Linked DNA regions of Homo sapiens: regions 2, 3, 4, 5 and 6 are each linked to region 1. Evidence: promoter capture Hi-C in 16 types of primary human blood cells and fetal thymus (Javierre and others, 2016). All regions are on one chromosome and are shown on one strand. Each heading gives the region's core, a stretch centred on a gene start or on the middle of the fragment in contact. The rest is flanking DNA. Distances are from core to core; before and after follow the strand shown. Region 1 holds the start of LAMP3 (lysosomal associated membrane protein 3). Region 2 overlaps MCF2L2 (MCF.2 cell line derived transforming sequence-like 2). Region 3 overlaps MCF2L2 (MCF.2 cell line derived transforming sequence-like 2). Region 4 overlaps MCF2L2 (MCF.2 cell line derived transforming sequence-like 2). Region 5 overlaps MCF2L2 (MCF.2 cell line derived transforming sequence-like 2). Region 6 overlaps MCF2L2 (MCF.2 cell line derived transforming sequence-like 2).

What was found. The method cuts DNA at HindIII sites, captures the fragments that hold promoters and counts their contacts. A CHiCAGO score of 5 or more calls a contact.
Region 2: a fragment that was not itself captured here is called in contact with the fragment with the promoter of LAMP3 in region 1 in 12 of 17 cell types (erythroblasts, M1 macrophages, M2 macrophages and 9 more); the score reaches 12.6 in erythroblasts.
Region 3: a fragment that was not itself captured here is called in contact with the fragment with the promoter of LAMP3 in region 1 in 1 of 17 cell types (activated CD4 T cells); the score reaches 5.5 in activated CD4 T cells.
Region 4: a fragment that was not itself captured here is called in contact with the fragment with the promoter of LAMP3 in region 1 in 3 of 17 cell types (neutrophils, total B cells and activated CD4 T cells); the score reaches 5.7 in neutrophils.
Region 5: a contact is called between a fragment that was not itself captured here and the fragment with the promoter of LAMP3 in region 1, in 17 of 17 cell types (activated CD4 T cells, naive B cells, naive CD4 T cells and 14 more). The highest score is 19.8, in activated CD4 T cells.
Region 6: a contact is called between a fragment that was not itself captured here and the fragment with the promoter of LAMP3 in region 1, in 1 of 17 cell types (M1 macrophages). The highest score is 5.1, in M1 macrophages.

The regions. Positions count from the first base shown.
Region 1 is chr3:183,161,426-183,164,125 of GRCh38, reverse strand. It overlaps LAMP3 (lysosomal associated membrane protein 3), which reads left to right and starts at 1,392. Exons shown (of 6, transcript NM_014398.4): 1 at 1,392-1,519. The coding sequence starts at 1,471. RefSeq lists a silencer at 1,182-1,391 and an enhancer at 2,004-2,213. The HindIII fragment of the contact is 7,998 bases long and covers 1-2,700 here.
Region 2 is chr3:183,408,394-183,411,093 of GRCh38, reverse strand. The region is part of intron 1 of MCF2L2 (MCF.2 cell line derived transforming sequence-like 2); the gene reads left to right. Among named protein-coding and RNA genes, the nearest start is that of MCF2L2, 19 kb to the left of the region's middle. The HindIII fragment of the contact is 565 bases long and covers 1,122-1,686 here.
Region 3 is chr3:183,330,344-183,333,043 of GRCh38, reverse strand. All of the region lies in intron 5 of MCF2L2 (MCF.2 cell line derived transforming sequence-like 2), which reads left to right. Among named protein-coding and RNA genes, the nearest start is that of B3GNT5, 78 kb to the right of the region's middle. The HindIII fragment of the contact is 894 bases long and covers 849-1,742 here.
Region 4 is chr3:183,354,284-183,356,983 of GRCh38, reverse strand. The region is part of intron 3 of MCF2L2 (MCF.2 cell line derived transforming sequence-like 2); the gene reads left to right. Among named protein-coding and RNA genes, the nearest start is that of MCF2L2, 73 kb to the left of the region's middle. The HindIII fragment of the contact is 4,685 bases long and covers 1-2,700 here.
Region 5 is chr3:183,374,639-183,377,338 of GRCh38, reverse strand. All of the region lies in intron 3 of MCF2L2 (MCF.2 cell line derived transforming sequence-like 2), which reads left to right. Among named protein-coding and RNA genes, the nearest start is that of MCF2L2, 53 kb to the left of the region's middle. The HindIII fragment of the contact is 1,531 bases long and covers 508-2,038 here.
Region 6 is chr3:183,308,997-183,311,696 of GRCh38, reverse strand. It overlaps MCF2L2 (MCF.2 cell line derived transforming sequence-like 2), which reads left to right. Exons shown (of 30, transcript NM_015078.4): 8 at 1-49; 9 at 668-782; 10 at 1,862-1,981. Among named protein-coding and RNA genes, the nearest start is that of B3GNT5, 57 kb to the right of the region's middle. The HindIII fragment of the contact is 1,133 bases long and covers 737-1,869 here.

The DNA.
Region 1 (2,700 bases), core at 143-2,642:
GCCGGACGTGGTGGCGCACATCTGTAATCCCAGCTACTGTGGAGGCTGAGGCAGGAGAATCGCCTGAACCCAAGTTTGCAGTGAGCCGAGATCACGCCATTGCCCTCCAGCCTGGGCGACAGAGTGAGACCCTGTCTCAAAAACAAAAACAAAAACAAACAAACAAAAACAAAGAAAGAAAAAGAAAAAAGAAAATAAAAAAACACACTGGGAGTGGGCATTATTATGTCCGTTTTACAGCTGAAGAATCCAAGGCTCCTAGAGGTTCCCCGACGCCGCACGCCGGGGAGTCGGCAGCGCGAGCTCCCAGCCAGACCTAGCGCCTCTGGGCTGTGCTCCTGTTGCTTCCCGCAAACCGCGGTCCTGGCGAGGCCTGGGCGTGGAGCGCGGCTGCCGCAGACTCCCTGGGAAGACATGGAGTCAGGGTGCTTAGGGGTTTTTAGGCTCCTGCTCGCCTAGTGGCTGGCTTTCTCCCGGCTGAGAAGCGTCTCTGGGTTCCCAGAAAGGTACCCGAGCTGTTAGAAAAGAGGAGACCCTGGGCCGGGCGCAGTGGCTCACGCCTGTAATCCCAACACTTTGGGAGGCCGAGGCGGGCGGATCACAAGGTCAGGAGATCGAGACCAGCCTGGCCAACAGGGTGAAACCCCGTCTCTACTAAAATACAAAAATTAGCTGGGCGTGGTGGCGGGCGCCTGTAACCCCAGCTACTCGGGAGGCTGCGGCAGGAGAATCGCTTGAACCAGGGCAGTGAGCCGAGATCCCGCCACTGCACTCCAGCCTGGCGACAGAGCGAGACTTTGTCTCAAAAAACAAAACAAAACAAAACAAAACAAAAGAAATAAAAAGAAAAGAAATAAAAGAGGAGACCCTGGCCGGGCTCGGTGGCTCACGTCTATAATCCCAGCACTTTGGGAGGTCGAGGCGGGCGAATCACGAGGTCAGGAGCTCGAGACCAGCCTGGCCAATATGGTGACACCCCGTCTCTACTAAAAATACAAAAATTAGCCGGGTGTGGTGGTGCATGCCTGTAATCCCAGCTACTCGGGAGGCTGAGGCAGAAGAATCGCTTGAACCCGGGAGGCAGAGGTTGTAGTGAGCCGAGATCGCGCCACTGCACTCCACCCTGGGCGACAGAGCGAGACTTCGTCTCAAAAAGAAAAGAAAAAGAAAGGAGGAGACCCAGGGTATGAGCGGAGGAGGCCGGCGCTGCCGGGACCACGCGCGTGCGGTAAACGGTCCCAGAGGCCCGGGCCCCGGCGGCTGCGCCGAGTCCCCGCCCCTCCCTGCTCCGTAGGGGTAGGAGGGGGCCGGCGGAGTTTCCCTCCCCGCCCAGCGGCCCTGGGCGGGCTTTTCGGCTGCTTCTCATAAGCAGGTGGTTTCGTTTCTCCGGCACAGGTAGGTTTCTCTGGCACCGATTCGGGGCCTGCCCGGACTTCGCCGCACGCTGCAGAACCTCGCCCAGCGCCCACCATGCCCCGGCAGCTCAGCGCGGCGGCCGCGCTCTTCGCGTCCCTGGCCGGTGAGTGGCCCTCAGCGCTTCCCGCGGTGGCCCTGACGTGTCGGTCCCCTTTCATCTAAACGCACTCTGGAGTCCCGGGCGCCACAGGACGGGCTGCGGGTAGGGAGGTGTGGCGCGTCCAAGGGCTTCCCAGCTGGAACTTGTTTTCCGTGAGTTACTCAGAGCAGGTGTCAACCCCAAAGACAGTGACACTGTCCCTCGCTTCCAAAAGGGTTCTGGACACCTTCTCAGGGAGAGTTTGTAGAGGTCACTCGGATTTAAGAGATGGAGACCTGAGCTAGGGTTTAGGAATGGGAGTCTTGGCTTTGTTATCCGGGAAAAGCGCTCCTGTCTTGCTTTTCCTTGCATCAGATGTGGTCTGACAGATTGTGCCATTTCAGAAAGGTGTAGGAAGAGTGTCAAAGACTTTTTTTTTTTTAAATGATCATTGTACTTCCCATCCCAGATGCCGTCTGGGACGCTGAGTTTATGATTATTTTATGATCCGACCCTCCGCTTTCTCCAGAGCTTTTCCCCCTAGACATTGAGTCCTCGGGTGCTGTGGTGTTGTCCCTGTGATGAAGTTTCCTGGTTACTCGAACGTCATGAGAGAACTGTCTCCGTCCCTACCGCCCGGCTAACATGCTCAAGCAGGGGGCGCGGTGGCCCTTGCTTGTAACATGAATGCTAGGAATGTTAGGGAAGAGGTGAGAAGGGTCGTGCCAGCTGCCCTTGCCTAGGCAGTTCTCCCCTGCGCCACACTTTCACACTTACAGTTTCAGGTTCTTTTAGGGGACAGAAGAGGAAGTCATCATCACGCTCCACAGGGCAAGCTATTAAAAAAGCAAAACAATCTCAGCCTAGCGGTAACCCACAGTGACCTGTATGTGAGCGCTCCTTGAATGGATGGATAGGCTCAGAAACACAATGGTATTGACAGGCCAGGCGTGGTGGCTCACACCTGCAATCCCAGCACTTTGGGAGGCTGAGGCCGGCGGATCACTTGAGGTCAGGAGTTCGAGACTAGCCTGGCCACCGGTGAAACCCCGCCTCTACTAAAAATACAGAAATTAGCCGGGCATGGTTGTGGGCGCCTGTAATCCCAGGTACTCGGGAGACTGAGGCAGGAGAATCACTTGAACCCAAGAGGCGGAGGTTGCAGTAAGCCAAGATCATGCCACTGCACTCCAACCTAGGTAACA
Region 2 (2,700 bases), core at 155-2,654, 250 kb before region 1:
AGGTGGTCTTGGCCTCAGAGTCTGAGTTCCTGACCACTGCTAGTCTGTGCTGAGTGCTCTCCAAGCTAGGGAGTATCTCACAGAACCTCAGAGCAGGAGGTCCCCCTGGGCCTCATCAGCAAGGTGCACAGTCAGGAGCTAAGACAGCTGTTCTCTCTCTGGTGTCACCTGGTCACTGTGCTCTGCTTCCCTCCTGTGTCTATACCATTCTTCTGCTTTTCTCTGCAGATCAGCTCTTTATTCAGCTGTGGATTTAGAGAGTGGCTGGATCTTGGGATGGGGGTAGAAGTCCTTGGGGAAGAGGGCTTTGGGGTGAACAGTCACCCTAAAACAAGTCTAATAACTTGGGAAGTACTGGCATTATGCTTTCAACTTTTAGAATCATTAAGAATGTAAAATACTTAGACGGTTTTACAGGCTGGCCTGGGAAAAACAGGAACCTTGCCCCATATTCAGTGTGCCACCTCCCCTGTGTGACTGCCTAGGTGCTCGGGCACCATAACTACATTAAGATGTCACTGGTCAATGAACGGATGGTATTTAGACAGCACCCACCACGACCAAGGCACTGGCCCGGGCATATGGCCCACAAGCTGTCATGGGGAGAGAATTATGGGGAATCTGAGGGCCTGAGCTCTTAACACTGGCTGAGTCACCCATGGGTCCCTGCTTTATCCAGATAACAAATGATCTGAGGGGTTTGGAGAGGACGCTTGTAGGCCACTGGACTGGAGGGGAGTTCAAGGCCCAATATGATAGTTATATTAAGAAAGACTGCAAAAAGTCACAAGTTGATGCTTGATCAATTGCCAATATAGATAGTGCTGTGAGAGTTTGGAGGCTGAAGTTATTGTGAGCTTCAGTGACTGGAAAAAGCTTCATATGAGATGTGACTTGAGCTGATCTTGAAGGAAGGAAAAGATTTAGATAGATGGAGAGGGGAAAGCTATTTAATTGGCGGGATAAGGGGAATAGCCACTTTTAGAGATTGCATTGGTCTTTCTGCACTAGTTGTCCAATTTATTGTAGTCTCTGCCTAGGCTTCCATGGTCAACAACCCTTCCTTGGACAACAAAGCTCAACAGTGAGCTTTACCTTGAAAGAAAGAATGACCTCAAGCTTGAAGGCAGACCTATGGTGTCTCACTGTTTTTCCTTCCTCATATAGATCCTTTTCTAGGAGTTAAGAGATTGGGAAAGGCTAGAGGATATGGAAATAACATTTAAAATGATGTTATTGGCTGGGTTCAGTGGCTCACGCTTGTAATCCTAGCACTTTGGGAAGCCAAGGTGGCTGGATAACCTGAGGTTAAGAGTTTGAGTCCAGCCTGACCAACATGGTGAAACCTCGCCTCTACTACAAAATACAAAAATTATCCAGGCATGGTCATGGGCACCTGTAATACCAGCTACTCAGAAGGCTGAGGCTGGAGAATCACTTGAACCCAGGAAGTGGAGGTTGCAGTGAGCTGAGATTTCACCATCGCACTCCAGCCTGGGCAACAGAGCAGAAACTCCATCTCAAAAAAAAAAAAAAAAAAAAGAAATTTTAGCTACCATTTATTTCCTGCCTTTTAGTGTCACAAGTTGTGCTTTATTATGTACATTTTTATTTAATTAAGTTTAATGGTAAGTGCAGTCTATTTATATGGAGGAGAAATTTGAGGCTTAAGCAGGTTAGGAAGCTTGCCCAAGGTCATAGCAAGAGGAAACGTCAGAATCAAAAGTCAGGTCTGGCTGGCTTTGAGGCATTTGAATGCTCACATTTGCTTTAATTTCCCATGACAAAGTGATATATAAACCAGTAAATGACAAAGTGCTATTACTGAGTTTTGAAAAATCTTTTGAAAAAATCAAATAGAAAATGAAAGCATTAATCCCTGAATCTTAAGTATTTTATGAGCCACTCGAAAAGTTGGCTTATTAATAGTCACTTTCTTCCAAAGAAAAACTGTTAGCTAAAGCTAGAGGATTTACTTTGTAGTCTTTAAACATGCAGAAATAATACATACATAATTCTTAAATAAGGATAATAAGCCTGTTAAGGAAGAAATGTTTGCCTAATTGCATTTCCCATGCTAAGCACTAGAGTCTTAAACAAACAAAAAGTCTAATAATCTAATAAAGTTATAACCTCCCATTATCATGGCAAGGTGGCAGCACCACTATGCACTTTTATTTAGTATAGAAGACTTTCTGTATTTAGAGGACTTTACTGTGAGGGAGTTATAAGTACAAACTGTATGCATGTGGACAAACTACAGGTGTTCAAAATGAGCACAGAGGCTTAGAAGAGTTGCCTCTGGATTTCTTTGTTCAGTTATTTGAACTGAACCTGTCCAGCCCAGGTTTTGGATTGTGTGTCTGTTTTTTTCTACCTATTGTTAGATCAGTTCACATTCATTTTAGCTTTCTCTTTCAATACCCTGGGAAGCTAGAATTAATTAAATTGCTGTGGGGAAAGAGGTCCTTCTGCCTGTTTCTCCTCTTTAATCCCCAATTTAAGACTAACCATATTTCATGAAGGCCTGCGGGAGCTGGGCACTGGGCCAGGTCTAAGGATGGGATATGAAGGAGTGGGGATAACCCCTGCCCATGGCCATAGGTCCCTAGGGGCCAGAACCAGGCCACCACCTCCACTGCTGCAGCCGCAGCATCCTGCGCAGCTCCTCAGGTGTAATGGGGGCCAGGAGGAATGAAG
Region 3 (2,700 bases), core at 46-2,545, 170 kb before region 1:
TTACCCTGAAAGAATATTAAACCCATCTCAGTGAAGACTTGCCATCTTAGACAAGGGATTTTTCTCATTTTTCTCTCTCCTTTCCTACTCTTATTTTCCTTGTTTTGGTTCCATCCTGTATTAATAATCAAATTTCTGAAAATCCTTTCTTTTCTACTTTGGGGATTAGCCAAACTCAAAATGAATTTCCCATTCTATTTTAAATACTCATTTTTGAAACACTTGAGTGTTTAAGGAAAATGTGAGGCCTGAGTTCTTTGCTCAGTTTTCCTAACTTGAGTAACTGTTGATGTTTGGGAAGAGATGGAGACTGACAAGAAGCCGATGACGTGTCATCATCTTCACGAGTCCCTTCGTGACTCCCCTTCAGAAATGAAGACTCATCAATTCTTCTTGCCACTCAAAAACGTTTGGAGTTGGAACTGAGCATTTGACCAAATGTCACGCGTATTTCCCTGATTGCATATAAAACACGTGTTTTATACATATGATACATATGATCTAGGTGTGCTCATATGTACACAGATACATTTGTGACTTATGCCCTCCTTCTCAGGTGATGCATCTACACCTAGGAGGGACTGAACATCTACTTTATCTCGATATTCTGACTTTAGCTACCTCTATTTGTGGTAGTGTAGGTTGATTCCCTGCCTGACCTGCTTTTAATTTTAAACTTAAAATCAACTTTTGAAAAAGCTCTCAGTCACCCAAACCCTGGGCACATTGAGTAGGGCATTCTTTAATGCAAGTTCACTCCGTAAGTAACCATTTCACCTGACGCACAAGGTCACACTCCCTGGTAGCGCTGATGCTCCAGAAACGGCAGAGTCTGAAGTTATCAAGCTTAATGAAATCTAACTTCTCAATACGTGTTGCCTTCTCAATGACAGTTCAAACTGTCAGTTTATCTTCTTTATTTTTAAAACGTGTTGTGATATTAGCACTTTACTTTGTAGCTTCCTAGCCTCTCTTATATTATAACATCTTCCTGGTCATTTCTAGTTAGATAATTACATTTTCACGTGTTGGGGGGAAAGGAGTTTATTTTGTGTGACTGGTATAGGAATCAGGTGGGTCAAGGATGTAATTGTAGCCAAGTGACAGCCTCCCTCTACCTTTATCTATGGAGGGGAAGTACTTTCATGTAGTAAATGGTTTTTGTTTGTTTTTGTTTTGTTTTGTTTGAAACTGTGTCTTGCTCTGTCACCCAGGCTGGAGTGCCGTGGCTCCATCAGGACTCACTGCAGCCTCAACCTCCTGGGCTCAAGTGATCCTCCTGCCTTGGCCTCCCAGTAGATGGTTTCTGAGTCCCTGTTGCTGGCCAGGCACTTCCCTATTCTGGAACAGCTGTACTCATAGCAGCCTCATAAAACTGTTAATGTGAAGTCACCAAGGCAGTCTTGTAAAACTCCTGAAGAGGCTATGATCGTGGAAATTGGTTGCTTAAAATGGAGTTTGTGTCAGAATACAGGAAATGCTTCTTGTGCAGTTAAAAGACCATGTATTTCTTTGAAAGAACGGTTTTAAGCATCTATAGATAAGAACACAAATGTATACAGAAAAGGAAAAGAAACAAGACATTTTTAGCTTTTAACAATTGTTACAAGAATATGCACGTATGGTAAAGTTGGTGGGGCCACAGGAAGAGACAGGCTTGGAAGGAAGAAGTTTATAATATCCACATGTCCAGGGGTCGGGGTCACCTCACGCCGCATGGGCTACTGGGGAAGCACCAAGCTTTGGTCAGGAGGCAGAAGAAGGAGGCAGAGGAAAGTCTAGGACAGAGCGTTTACTGGAGTTCTGCAGGCAAAGCAAGGCAGGATTTAGTATGGACTAGTTTGAATAACTCCTGCAGTCTTTGGGGTATAAGGATTGTCTCTTTGTTACATGGCACCTGGCCCTGGGATGACTTAGGGCAAGGTAAACAATGGCCTGGTGTGTGAGAGTTTGATAAGGTGGTGGTTGGGGATTTGGATTTGAGACTGGTTGTTTTGCGTATGAAAGACCTGCTCCCAGCTAACCCCTTCCCTGTCTCTAAGAAGTGGTTAGCCCTGGGGTGGGGGTGGCGGGGCAGTCTCTTCCTAGTCATGGAGGCCACAAATGCCAGAGCCTCAAGAGTACAGAAAATAAGAAAATGTGGCTCATGTAATTGACCCTGTAATGAGAGGATGCCAAATAGACAAAAACAGAATCCAAGAAAAGACAGAAAAAATGTTTTAAGGCCAGTTTTACATGCTTAGTGTGTCCTGTGGGTTTGATGAGCACAATTATTCTGCCTTTTTTCTTCACTATATAGAATATAAAAACTTTTTAAACATTTCTATCCTGTAAAGATTAAAAGAAGAAAAAAAATGTGGGGAAACTGCCTCTCATTTGTTTTTGAAAATTTACATCAGGTAAAATTCACTCTCTTTGGTGTACAGTTCTATGAAGTTTGACAAATGCGTGGTGTTATCCAGTCACCACAATAAAGATACAGAACAGCCCCATCACCACGCAAAACTTCCTCACTCTGCCCTTTTGTAGCCAGCCCCTCTCCCCATCCCTAATCCCTGGCTGCCACTGATCTGCTCTCCATCCTTATAGTTTTGCCTTTTTGCAGAGAGTCATACAAATGCAATTCCAGCCATGTGCTGCATAACAACATTTTGGTCAACAACGGACCACATATACAGTGGTGGTCCCATAAAATTATAA
Region 4 (2,700 bases), core at 168-2,667, 190 kb before region 1:
TTTAGGTTCTAGCATCATATGTTTAATTTCTGAGAACTATTTCTTATTCTCCCATTGCTCCCTTTTCATAAGAGTGTATTCTTGTTTTATGGATGGAGTATTCTTTCAACAGTCTGAGATTACTGACTAGAAAAAATATAAACTTTTTTGTAGTTGTTTTCATTGTTTCTAGATTGGCTGTTCTGTTTGTTCACCTCAGTCTTTCTCTTTGATGCTTTGCTTTTATTCAATTCAGAAGATCTTTGGTTGCCTTTTTATATTTTTGAAGGGTTATGTTGTAAATATAATTATCTGACTTGGATTTCCTTTGCAATTGGGTAGCTCTGTTTAACCAAGGTACTTGCACTTGAATGGGAGGAAATTGAGGTCAGTAGACTCTGCAACAGTGAGTGGGTCCTATAAATAGATTTTCCTTTAGGGATGCTTGATTAGGGAGTAGGCAATACTTTTATTTTATTTATTTATTTATTTTGAGACGGAGTCTTGCTCTGTTGCCAGGCTGGAGTGCAGTGGCGCAATCTCGACTCACTGCAACCTCTGCCTCCCGGGTTCAAACAATTCTCCTGCTTCAACCTCCTGAGTAGCTGGGACTACAGGTGCATGCCACCACGCCCAACTAATTTTTATATTTTTAGTAGAGACAGGGTTTCACCGTGTTGGCCAGGATGGTCTCAATCTCTTGACCTCGTGATCAGCCTGCCTTGGCCTCCCAAAGTGCTGGGATTACAGGTGTGAGCTACAATGCCCGGCAATACTTTTTTTTTTTATAATAAAGAGTACTTTGCTCTAGAGGCAGAGTTTTTTTTTTTTTTTTAAGTCAATTTTATTTCTAGAAAGACCTGCTCTTTGTATTCTTCTTTTGAGTCTTTCTTGCATATGGTCTGAAGTTTCTTCAGGCACTGCTCTTCCTCCTCCTTAGCTTCAACTCCTATAGCCTAGGCACTGTCCTGGCAAATCTACTTTGTGAAGGAAGAGGTTTGCAAGGCTGCAGATGGGGCAAATGCTACAGCCAGCTGCTCTTTATTCACAAGGGGAGGGGAGGGGGGAAGGAGGGGCCCACTGCCCTAGTCACTCCAAGTGAGGCCCCAGAATGAACATCACCTGGAAGCCTGTCAGAAATGCAGAATCTGGGGCATCACCCCTAGCTTCATGACTTGAAATTGCTATGTTTAACAGGACCCTCAGGTGACTGGTGTGGACTTGAAAAGCATTGTTGATGGCCGGGTGCGGTGGCTCACGCCTGTAATCCCAGCACTTTGGGAGGCCGAGGCAGGCGGATCACGAGGTCAGGAGATCAAGACCATCCTGGCTAACACGGTGAAACCCTGTCTCTACTAAAAATACCAAAAAAAAAAAAAAAAAAAAAAAAATTAGCTGGGCGTGGTGGCGGGCGCCTGTAGTCCCAGCTACTCGGGAGGCTGAGGCAGGAGAATGGTGTGAACCCGGGAGGCGGAGCTTGCAGTGAGCCGAGATCGCGCCACGGCACTCCACCTATGCGACAGAGCGAGACTCCGTCTCAAAAAAAAAAAAAAGGAAAGGAATTGTTGATTATGGTAGCTAAGTAATTATTTTGCTATTCCTGCTTTCTGCCCCCCTCTACTGAAAGAGTAAGACTGTGTTGGAGTTGCCTCTAAGAGGCCTTCAAGCATTTTCCCCTCCATTTTCTAAGGTCAGTATCCTTAGAAAGAGGAATTCATTCATATCCACAAGCAACAAGATCTGATCCTTTTCTAGTGACATTACCTGTCTCTTGCTTCCTCCTCACAATCCCCTAGTTTTTTTCATTTTCAAACATTTCATGTAAATTCTAGAAATCAATATCATGTAAAGAAAGTTGTGGTGGAGTGTGTGGAGGGGATGGGATCCATTAGACTTATGAAAATAAAATAAAATAAATAATAAATAATATAATGAATAATAAATAATATTATTAAAATAAATAGAAGCATTTTATGCCAGTGCTTTAAACAATTATTTTATATCACTTCACACAGTACAAAGACCTGGAAACATGCTTTAATTCTTACATTTATTTCTGTATTTATTCATGCATTCATGATGGATTTATTCCCTTTGCATGCTTATAGGGACTACGTTATTGATCAGTAACATACCTATGTTGACTCAAAAGGGCCAAACTCTGTAAAATATTTGAAGAACTTTATTCTGAGCCAAATGTAAGGACCACGACGCCATGACACAGCCTCAGGAGGTCCTAAGAACATGTGCCCAAGGTCATTGGGTAATAGCTTGATTTTATACATTTTAGGGAGACAGGAGTTACAGGCAAACAACAATCAATACATGTAAGATGTACATTGGTTTGGTCCAGAAAGGTGAGACAACTTGAAAACTTGAACCACTGGGTGAGAGACTTACAGATCATAGGTGGATTCAAACATTTTCTGATTGGTAATTGGTTGAAATGGTTAAGTTATTATCTAAAGAGTAGAAGTCAGCAGAAAGAAATGCTGGGGGTTAAGATAAGTGGGGTGGGGTGGGAGGGTGCAGGTTGTGGAAGCCAAGGTTCTTGGTATGTAGCAGGCTTTAGAGAGAATAGATGGTAAATGTCCCTTATCAGACCGTAAAAGGTGCCAGACTCTCAGTTAAATCTCTCTCCTGGATCAGGAAAAGACCTGGAAAGGGAAGGGGATTCTCTGCAGAATGTAGATTTTCCCCACAAGAGACAGCTTTGCGGGA
Region 5 (2,700 bases), core at 24-2,523, 210 kb before region 1:
GGGAGCCATCATCCTCAGCAAACTAACACAGGAACAGAAAACCAAACACCACATGTTCTCACTCATAAGCAGGAGTTGAACAATGAGAACACATGGACACAGGGAGGGGAACATCACATACCGGGGCTTGTTGGAGGGTCGGGGACGAGGGGAAGGAGAGCATTAGGACAAATACCTAATGCATGCGGGTCTTAAAACCTGGATGATGGGTTGACAGGTGCAGCAAACCACTGTGGCACATGTATACCTATGTAACAAACCTGCATGTTCTGTACATGTATCCCAAAACTTAAAGTAAAAATTTAAAAATGCCATTCTGGAATATTGACTATTTAAGTTAAAAGCACTTGAAAAACAGCAGGTACAAGAATATCACTTTGACCTTTGTGCTGTTTCTTAAGAGGAGAAGATGGAATTCCTATGTGAAAGACACTCTCTAGGGACTAGAAGGAAAGGTAACTTAGAGAATATTGCACAGACCTTGTTAGAAATTCTATTTTTTAAGCTTCCCCACATAATTTAGTCACATTTTCATAGTTTATTATTCTTTGTTCAATCCAGTATAGAAGTAACTGACTCTAACTGATTCTTTGGGTCTTCATTTCTTTATGAGGGCTCTTGTGCCATGTAAAACATTTATGAATAAATGTCTATGCTTTTCTCATGTTAATCTGTGTTTTGTCGATTTAACTCTTGGACCCAGCCAGGACCCTAAGACAATAGAGGTGAAGTTTTTCCATTCCTACAGTGAGAAGGGGGACCCTGACGGAGGGGAACCCCAGCTCTTCATTCCTGCCTTTATCAACCTGGGTTTTAAGAAGTTGAACTTGAACTCTGTCTTTGGCCCAGTGGCATTTCAGGACAATATCCCATCAGTTTAGCAACTTCTGTGGGAGCGGCAAGGAAGAGGGTGAATAGGGATGTAGACAATAGGAGGAGTGTCCCCTGTCCCCATTCTCCTTATATTTGTTTTAAATTCGATGTCTAGTTTTACTTAATCCCCAGGGATACAGTCAAATGCTAAGTTAAATGGAGGATTTTCCTTTTGCATTTGCAGCCTTTTCCAAATCACGCTGAAGATAGCTCAGCCCCCCGGACTGTGTGGCAAGAAGCAGGCAGGGTTATCACCCCTATCTCACAGATGGAGATGAGGAGATCAAACAGGGGCTTCTGTTTTGGATTTCTTTGTTCTACTGTAGGCTCCTGGTACAATTTCTTGTGACCTAGGGAATATTTTCTTTTCCTAGAATGCTGTTTGTCTTTCGGGAAAGAGTGGCTGTCTGGCCAGTTCTTCCCCTCGCCTTTCTTCTTCCGCTTTTGCTCACACTACTTGCTGCCCCTCCCCTGTTCCTTTCCACAAAAAGTGGAGACAAAGGGTGAGAAGGCCTGAAAGGGGAACTTGACTTGGACCTATGTCTAATTTCCATGTCAGATTTCAAAGAATGAAACCACCCTTGTTCGTTTTATGACTCCTGTTTATCACAATTTGCATCTTTTTGTACGTTACATAGTTATCCAGTACCAGAGTCCTTCCCAATTGCAAAATGTTTTATAGACAGGTGGCAGAGGGCTCGTGGATGGATAAAAAAGAATTGATACACTAGAATAGGAAAATGGCAGGATACTTGGGGTTGGGAAATGCTATCTTTGTGCCTGAAATTAATTAGGATCTCGCATTGTGAGTGGGTTGGGCAGGTACAGAAAGGCTTCCCACAGTAATTCATTCTTCAGCAGACCTCTATGAGAGCCCACAGCATGTAGGGTGCGGTGTACGATGCTGTAAAGGACTGAAAAACCTCAAGACGATGTCTCAGACCGCAGGAAACTCATTACATGACTCTGTTATCAATATCTTTTGTGAAATATGTAAACAAAGTGCTATAGGAGCTCAGAAAACAGAAAGTCACTTCGACAGGAAAAAAAGGGAAAACTTCAGGAAAAAAGGGGGTTTCAATCCAGACCTGTAAGAGAGGGTTCTTGGATCTTATGTGGGAAAGAAGTCAAGGAGAGTCACAAAATGCAGTGAAAGAAGCAAGCTTATTAGAAACTACTGTTACAGAGTAGGGTGCCCTCAGAAAGCAAAAGGAGGAACGCATTGACTTTAAGTTTTTCTTATATAGGGATCTTGTCTATATAAAGATTAAACTAAGCTGTGCCTATGTGCGGATGGGCAGACAGTGTGACAAAACTTATTATTCTATTGATTTAAAGAAAACTATCCTTGACATTTTAGTGTGTGAGAACATCAAAGCATAACTATAATTTTTTGAAAACATATATTGTTATGGTATTGGGACATCTGGACTTTCTGTTGTTGTAGTATCCTTAGGCTGTTTTCTCAACCATAAACATCTTATGACCATGGGTCCTGGTTGGCAAGGAATGTGCCTTGTTACTCTCAAGATGGAGCTGAACTTAAAATTGTGTCACTTTCACTCTCCTAGGCTCCTGCCTCCCTAACAAAATGTCCTTGAGGGGATGGTACAGTTGCTACAGATAGATACAGAAGGGAGCATTCCAGAGAGAGAAAAGGATAGTGTTGAAGAGCTTTGAACACAGCCCAAACCTGGATTGAAATCCAGATCCTATTGCTCACTAGCTAGGTGGTCTGGGGCAAATGACATGGCTTCTATTTTTTCTTTCTTTCTTTCTTTCTTTTTTTTTTTTTTTGAGACGGAGTTTCGTGCTTGTCGCCCAGAC
Region 6 (2,700 bases), core at 54-2,553, 150 kb before region 1:
ACAGCAAACTCAATCTCAACCAACTTGAGAATGTAACTACCATGGAAAGGTGAGTGAGTGAAGTGGAATCAGCCTTTTCAGGAGAGAATATGTAGACCTAGATGTTCTGGAGCAACCAAGAACAGATTGGAACAGCCAATATTGGGTCTTGGTGGGGCCAAGGAAGAAGAATATTTGAGACAACAAAGGAAAAAAGAATACGTCCGTCTGGCATCCACATACAGAGATCTTTTTATGAGCATTCTATTCCCCCCTCTTCAATGTATATGACATGTTCCCACCCTAGGATTTTGAGGGAGAGGGTAGTATTTACTGGGCTTCATTTCCAAGTAACAGTTTAGCTTGGAGCTGTGCTTTATATTCGTGTAGTCTCAGGTAGAAAGAAAGAAGGCATGAAGGTAAGATCAGCCGGAGCACATTCTAAAGCACAGCAGCTGCATCTGAAGCAAAGTCACTGCCTGCACTGTGGATGTCCTGATTGGAAAATGAAAGGTGCAAAGCCTGCTGAGCCAGAAGAAAGGCATAGGTGACACATGCTTTCATAATAATGAGATGGTCACAATTGACACCACTGACCGAAGACACAGGTGTTCTAGCCATAGGCCTATATGGATGCCTGTGGAAATGAATGCTAACCTAACATCACTTTCTCATTCTTTCTTGAAAGGTTATTAGTTCAACTGGATGAAACAGAAAAAGCCTTTAGTCACTTTTGGTCTGAGCATCATCTGAAGCTTAACCAGTGCCTACAACTACAGCATTTTGAGCACGATTTTTGTAAGGTATTCTTTTCTTGTTTACTGTAACTTTCTTTTCTGGTACCGGGACCTCTGGTTTTCTCTCCCTCCTCACTCTTTGGTATGGGGTTTCCCTCTTTTCCCTAATCCAGCTTTCTCCTTATCTCCTTGCTTCTTTACAGACCACCCCCTCCAACCCCCTTCTCACTTTTTCAGTGGAGTCAAACTGTTCTAGAATCCCATTTACCTGTTGATGTACATGGCATTTCAGTGATGGTTTATCTTCCTTTTTTTTTTGAAACAGGGTCTTGCTCTGTCACTCCGGCCGGAGTGCAGTGGTGTGATCATGGCTCACTGCAGCTTTGATCTTCTGGGCTCAAGCTATCCTCCCACCTCAGCCTCCCAAGTAGCTGGAATTACAGGCATGCCCCACCATCACACCCGGTAATTTTTTTTTTGAGTTGGAGTCTCACTCTGTTGCCCAGGCTGGAGTGCAATGGCGCGATCTCAGCTCACTGCAACCTCCGCCTCCCAGGTTCAAGCGATTCTCCTGCCTCAGCCTCCTGAGTAGCTGGGACTACAGGTGCCCACCACCACACTCAGCTAATTTTTTGTATTTTTGGTAGAGATGGGGTTTCACTGTGTTAGCCAGGATGGTCTCAATCTCCTGACCTCTGTGACCTACCTGCCTCGGTCTCCCAAAGTGCTGGGATTACAGGCGTGAGCCACTGCGCCCGGCCCAGATAATTTTTAAATATTTTTGCAGAGACGAGGTCTCCCTATGTTGCCCAGGCTGGCCTCGAACTTCCAAGCACAAACAATCCTCCTGCCTCAGCCTCCCAAAGTGCTGTGATTATAGGCATGAGCCACTGGACCCAGCTGTCTTCCTTTTTGATTGATTATCTGTTGAATATAGTTCTAATAGTTCAGCTACAGGTGAATTCTGCACCCCCAGCTTAATTTGAAAGTTAGTGAGCTGCAAAAAAAAAATTTTTAACATATATAGATATATACAAGTCTTGAATCCTTTTTGGAATTTTGAGTTTTCTTGAAGCATAACAAACCTATACCTTCAGGTGAGTGAGTGTTGGTTTACTTCTGGACTGTTCTAATGTTTCTTGTAGGCTAAGCTTGCCCTGGATAATTTGCTGGAAGAGCAAGCAGAGTTTACAGGCATTGGAGACAGCGTGATGCACGTGGAGCAGATTCTTAAGGAACACAAAAAACTGGAGGAAAAAAGCCAGGTTTGCTTTCTGACATTTTTGTGTACTGGGAGGGAGGTTGCTGTGGACAATGATGGATCATGTCCAGTCATTGCTATTGGAAGGTTGCTAAAGGACACAGGAATGCCCAGTCCTGCCCTTCAGTCACCCCAGGATCCCAAGGAGAGAGGCACATTAACAACTGCTATGAATAATACGGGCAGCACAGAGTCCTATTAAAGCTGCCGGAACATACAGTTGCAGTTGGACGCTCAGGTCGGGTGAGGACTCTGGACCAGCCCTGCCCTCTCACGTGGTCAGCAGCCAAGTGGGAGAAGGTCACAACAGGCTCATCACTCACCAGAACAATTATATCAGAGGCTCACCCATCAGCTTGAGCTCCTCCCTGGAGCCTGGACTAGGGGGCTGGGGGTTGTGGGGTTGGTAGTAAGGATGGGAAACTTTCAAAGGAGAAACCAGAAAAAAAAAAACAACTAGTTTTATACCTGGAGCAAGACAATTAGATGGGGGAAATTGGTCCATGTTAGTTCCATTGCTACACAGAATTGGCAAAGCTTTCTCCTTTCTCATGTCCCAAGAGTTGTAAATGTGAAACTTGTAAAAGAATATGTATTTTACAGTCCCATACTGGAATTAAACAGTGTCCCAGATCCGCACACAAGTCAGCATTTAGAAATGATTCCATTTTAAGTGTTTACAGATTTGGTTTATTACAAATGAAGAAAGCTGAGTCGTCTCTT